2 separate regions of the Homo sapiens genome follow, and region 2 is linked to region 1. Evidence: promoter capture Hi-C in 16 types of primary human blood cells and fetal thymus (Javierre and others, 2016). All regions are on one chromosome and are shown on one strand. Each heading gives the region's core, a stretch centred on a gene start or on the middle of the fragment in contact. The rest is flanking DNA. Distances are from core to core; before and after follow the strand shown.

Region 1 (2,700 bases), core at 198-2,697:
CTCATCAAATAGCAGAGCAGTCCTTTGTCTTTGACTTGTAAGTTGAGGCAACTTTATATGCCATGAATTCCATTTAATTTACAAACAAATAACCACTAACAATGTACATATATTACCACACCTCTTCCAAGTGTATTTTAAACTGGGGGAAATTCTCTAAAGAAATCATTATTAACTTTTCTTTTTTGTATTAATTTTTTTAATGTGTTCAGTTTATTCCACAAGCATTAACTGAGTAACTGCCATGTACTGGTGCCTGCAGAGTGAACGTGTTAAGCACAGTAAATAAAAGGATAAGACATGGCAATTCTCTTAGGAAGCTCATGATTTATTCAAAAATGGGATGGCGTCAGGAAAAGCCTCATTGAGGAGGTAATAATTGCGACAAACTACACCTAGGAAAACTTATTTTACAGGATCAAAGAACATTAGCGCCAAATGGCCCAGATCATCATGTCTACTTTCGTCTTCGTGCTGATGAGCAAAGTACCACAGAGATAACGTTCATTTAGTGGCAGCAGTGGAAAGGGACAGTCATTTCGCCACGGATACTTCATAAAGAGAACAATAAAAAAGTGGTGTGATTCACTTTGCCAAGAAGTGGTTGTCATTTCTAGCACCACCTCTGAACAGTATCAGTAATCAGAACTCACAATGAGCTGAAAACTGTCTCTGAGGAGCAGATGTTACTACACGAACCTCTTGATTCTTTTTAATCTCTCTATTCCAACACTTTACAGTCTACGGAATACAGAACCCATGACTAACTCCAATAGTTAAAACAGGTTCTCGTCTCTCAAGGCTTTCGCTTCCCTTCGATTTGGGCCATGCTATCCTCCTCCTCCACCTCCACTCCGCTGTGTATGTCCTCTGCCCCCACCTACCCTCTCTCTGTCTAGATAGTATTGTTCCAACACTCCCACGTCCTCCTCCTTCTCCGAGCCTCCACGGCGCTTCCTGTCCGTGCCCCAAATTCCAGTATTTGTTTAGACACTGTCGTGAGAATCAGGAAGGGCTGATAGTAACTTAGAAGCTTAGAAGATTGTACCCTTGGAGTCCAGCTCCGGCTTCTGTCACCTATCAGCTGTAGGCCCCTATGCAAATCCCTCGCCCTCGTTAGGCCTCAGTTCCCTCATTGCAGGAAAGTAGCTGAACCAGATAACAACCCCCAGAACCTTCGAGTTTCCCGCGCTAGGAATCAGACCAACACCTCGGCGGGCATCAGCCTCCAGGGACATCCCAGAGACTCTGGGAGACCTGACCGAGACCCATCAGGAAATAGTTACTCCGGAGTGTGGCCCGATGGTCTGGGTGGCATGAGGTTGGCCAGGCGCGAAGCCGGGGCAACTCACGGTGAGCGGCTGTCTCCACAAGTCCGCGCAGAGCCTTCAGGTCAGAACCCGCTCGCAGGTCCAAATCTGCAAACACCGCCATGCTGAAGTCCCATGACCGTCCGCGCGCGCCAGTCTGCGCAGCCGCTGAGCCCGCCCCTCAGGCATGCTGGGAGCTGTAGTTAACCTGCGCAGTCCGTCTCTACCTCCAGTTGACTAGGGATTCGGAGAAACTTACTTGCTTTGCTTTCATCTACCACCAGAATTTGTGTGTTGAAATCAACAGCTTCATTTCAATCTCTCTTTGTCTTCTTCTGAACGACAATGTTTGGTTCCCCCTGGAGGGGTTCCAATTCCCAACTATTCAATACTCCTATAAAATAGTGTAGAAATGAATTCATTCAAAATGCACGCACACGGTATCTACTTAGTGCTGCTCATGAATCAGAGAATTCTGCTAATGGGTGAAAACGCTATTTAAAGAGTCTTAAAGAACACGTTTTCCTTTCCTTTCCCTAAAGTCCATTCCGTTGTTTACAATGGACTTACCGGGAAGAAGGCGTTTGTGTGTGACGGACTCTAGGACTTCAAAAGAGAACTACCCCAAGACGAGGGTCTTTTTACCCAATCAGAACTGTTGATGTCAAAGCCCGCTATTCTCTGTGGCAGTCAACATCTTCAACCACAAGATGGCGGGACTCGCTCTAGGACGAGCGGTTAGAGCCAACATTGATTTAGCCAAAGACATGTTTGAAAAGGGAGGTGCAAAATTGAGATGTTTTACACTTTTCCAGCTGAGAAATGTACAAGGTGACGCATATCCCACATATCTGATGTTTCCACTTTTTTCCGACTTAGTGTAAATGATCTATTGAGGATAATAATCAATTATACTACAAAAGTGTGACTATAGTTTACATCAGTGCTCTCAAACTACCTGTGATGAAGGATCAGTTTCTCCCTCCTTTTCCTCTACCCCCAAACTCTTCGCGAACCAGGATGTGGTCCTTTATGCATTACCAGTAAGCAGCCTGGCCTCATGGGAATCACAAATTTGACAACACTCGAACTGCCCTATACCTGGCTGAATAGAATCTGCTGATCAGGAGCTTGGATTATCAGGACAATGCCAAAGTACTGTAAACTTTCTAAACATCTTCACTTTTTGTTTGTTTGTTTGTTTTATTAACGTGCGCACAGCAACAACAATCACAGAATTAGAGGCTCGGTCATTTGACCTAGGGAGTATCCTAGTTGGTGGCCTGCTGAGTTTTCGTTTCGTTTTGTTTTGTTTTTAGAGAGAGTATCTCGTTATTGACCAGGATGGACTCTAACGCAAGCAATCCTCTCTCCTAGCTGTGATTACAGG
Region 2 (2,700 bases), core at 147-2,646, 1.0 Mb before region 1:
TAAATGTACAGATAGTTATAGGCCACTGTTTTTGCAATGTAGTACATTTCTAATCTATTATTCCTAACCTATTATAACTGTTTGCAGAGAGAAAATAATTGAATTTTTCTAATAATCTGTAAAATTATGCTAACTTCTACAAGTAGGCTTCTAAATAAAAATTTTAAAAAGAGCAAAAAAAAAAAAAAAGAAAGAAAAAACAGCTTTGCTTGGTCAGCACTTTGAGAGGCTGAGGCAGGTGGCTCATCTCAGGTCAGGAGTTCGATACCAGACTGGGCAACATGGTGAAACCCCTTCTCCACTAAAAATTAGCTGGGTGTTGTGGCAGGCACCTGTAATTCCAGCTACTGGGGAGGCTGAGGCAGGTGAATCGCTTGAACCGGGAAGGCAGAGGTTGCAGTGAGCCGAGATAGCACCACTGCGCTCCAGCCTGGGTGACAGAGTGAGCTCCCGTCTCAAAACAAACAAACAAACAAACAAACAAACAAACCCCCGCACACACACACAATCCCCCCCTCCAGAAAAAGCAGCTTTGCTTAAATGTAACATTTTCAAGATTCAAGAACACATTCATTCTCTCTCTCTTTTTTTTTTTTTTTGAGAGGCAGTCTCGCCCTGTCCCGGGTTCAAGTGATTCTCCTGCCTCAGCCTCCTGAGTAGCTGGGATTACAGGCATCTGCCACCACGCCTGGCTAATTTTTGTATTTTTAGTAGAGACGGGATTTCACCAGGCCAGGCTGGTCTCACATTCTTAACTATTATACCATTTCAATTGGTAATCTTACCGTTCAACTACTATAATACAAATAATTTTTTTAAACTTCTAATTTTTGGAGGACCCTTATAACTGATTTCTAATACCTAAAAATAATAAAAAGCCCAAATGTCCACTCCTGGGTGAACTGCTGGGCACTATTGTATGTTAATAAACTAGGATATTATATTTTTATTAGTAGTAACAATTATTAAGATTGAGAGTCTTAAGAAAGGCTATTGGAAATAATAGGTAAAAATGTAGAACTCAGAATATGAGAAATAGAATGTAAATGATATAATTGTGTAAAAAATGCCTAGTTTAGAATACTGAAGTTTGTTTTGTTTCATTTTATTTAACTTTTAAAACTTAGATCTTTTGTTTAATTTTTATTTTTTGGATGGTTAAGTACATGAAAGAAGAAAAACTTGGTTAATTTTGCCTGATTATTTTAAACATTGGAAGCAAAATACAAGATTTGTATTTCATACTACAGGACCGCTTCCATCATCCATCTGGAGAGACAGAGAGAGAGAGGGAGAGAGAGAGAGAAGCGCGGCGGTGATAAGTCTCCCAGTGTGAGAGAAATCGGGGAGGGGCGAAGAAGGGTAGGCCTCTTCTGTTCCATTGATACCACGTTCATTCACAGGGAGCCGGCTAAAACAGACTACTCCCCCGTGCAGTCGTTCCCTCTACCCTAATAAGGCTTTGGCGCCTCTCCCAGAACTCGGTAAGTTCAAAGTGTAGTAAAGTGCATGTTTCCAAGGAATCATCTGAAATGATTTTGTAGATAGTTTATTGCAGGTTGGAGAAGGGAGAAAATGAAGGAAGGGGTAGAGGGGGCAATTATCACGCATCGTTTTGCTATCGTATTTGCAAGGGGAAGAAAATCTCAATGCATACATGGTTCGAAAGTGATTATTTAGACAGTAAGCAGTTTCCCCAGGAAAGCTCCTCAGAGGGTCTCCTCGCAGGCTGCAGATTCTAGAAAGTCTGCGGAAGAGTAGTTCGCAGGTGCATGTGTCTGGGCGAAGCGCTGCGTGTGGCTCAGTTGGTGGCAGTCTCTGCCTCTGTCCGCAGGTCCTGGGGAATGCTCTTTGCCTGGTCCAGCCCCGACAAACGTGGTCTGAGAACAGCGGAGCGCGGAAACCGCGGAGCATGACTCCTCCGAAGCTGCGAGCGTCGCTGTCGCCGTCGCTGCTGCTGCTGCTGAGTGGTTGCCTCCTCGCGGCTGCTCGGAGGGAGAAAGGGGCGGCTAGCAACGTGGCGGAGCCGGTCCCCGGGCCCACTGGCGGCTCCTCGGGTCGCTTCCTCAGCCCCGAGCAGCACGCGTGCAGCTGGCAGCTCCTGCTGCCCGCCCCGGAGGCCGCAGCGGGCAGCGAGCTGGCGCTGCGCTGCCAGAGCCCGGACGGGGCGCGCCACCAGTGCGCCTACCGCGGGCATCCGGAGCGCTGCGCAGCCTACGCCGCTCGCCGCGCGCACTTCTGGAAGCAGGTGCTGGGAGGGCTGCGCAAGAAGCGGAGGCCCTGTCACGACCCCGCGCCGCTCCAGGCCCGCTTGTGCGCGGGCAAGAAGGGCCACGGCGCCGAGCTGCGGCTAGTGCCCCGCGCGTCCCCGCCCGCACGCCCCACCGTCGCGGGATTCGCGGGGGAGTCCAAGCCCCGGGCCCGGAACCGGGGGCGGACCCGGGAGCGTGCGTCCGGCCCAGCCGCTGGGACCCCGCCTCCCCAAAGCGCACCGCCCAAAGAAAACCCCTCAGAGAGGAAGACCAACGAGGGCAAGAGGAAGGCGGCCTTGGTCCCCAACGAGGAGCGACCCATGGGGACCGGGCCCGACCCCGACGGGCTGGACGGGAACGCGGAGCTCACGGAGACCTACTGCGCTGAGAAGTGGCACTCCCTCTGCAACTTCTTTGTCAATTTCTGGAACGGCTGAGACTGCCTGCC

What was found. Contacts are between HindIII fragments. The CHiCAGO score rates a contact against its expected background, and 5 or more counts as called.
Region 2: the fragment with the promoter of FGFBP3 here is called in contact with the fragment with the promoter of RPP30 in region 1 in 10 of 17 cell types (activated CD4 T cells, fetal thymus, naive CD8 T cells and 7 more); the score reaches 14.0 in activated CD4 T cells.

What each region holds. Positions count from the first base shown.
Region 1 is chr10:90,870,721-90,873,420 of GRCh38, reverse strand. RPP30 (ribonuclease P/MRP subunit p30) reads right to left here and starts at 1,447. Exons shown (of 11, transcript NM_006413.5): 1 at 1,353-1,447. The coding sequence starts at 1,434. RefSeq lists enhancers at 1,137-1,196, 1,327-1,596, 1,315-1,609. The HindIII fragment of the contact is 10,238 bases long and covers 1,036-2,700 here.
Region 2 is chr10:91,908,182-91,910,881 of GRCh38, reverse strand. It overlaps FGFBP3 (fibroblast growth factor binding protein 3), which reads left to right and starts at 1,396. Exons shown (of 2, transcript NM_152429.5): 1 at 1,396-1,484; 2 at 1,835-2,700. The coding sequence starts at 1,913. The coding sequence ends at 2,689. It overlaps FGFBP3-AS1 (FGFBP3 antisense RNA 1), which reads right to left. Exons shown (of 2, transcript NR_199602.1): 1 at 2,633-2,700; 2 at 1,534-1,985. RefSeq lists an enhancer at 1,756-2,050 and a silencer at 1,954-2,523. The HindIII fragment of the contact is 14,773 bases long and covers 1-2,700 here.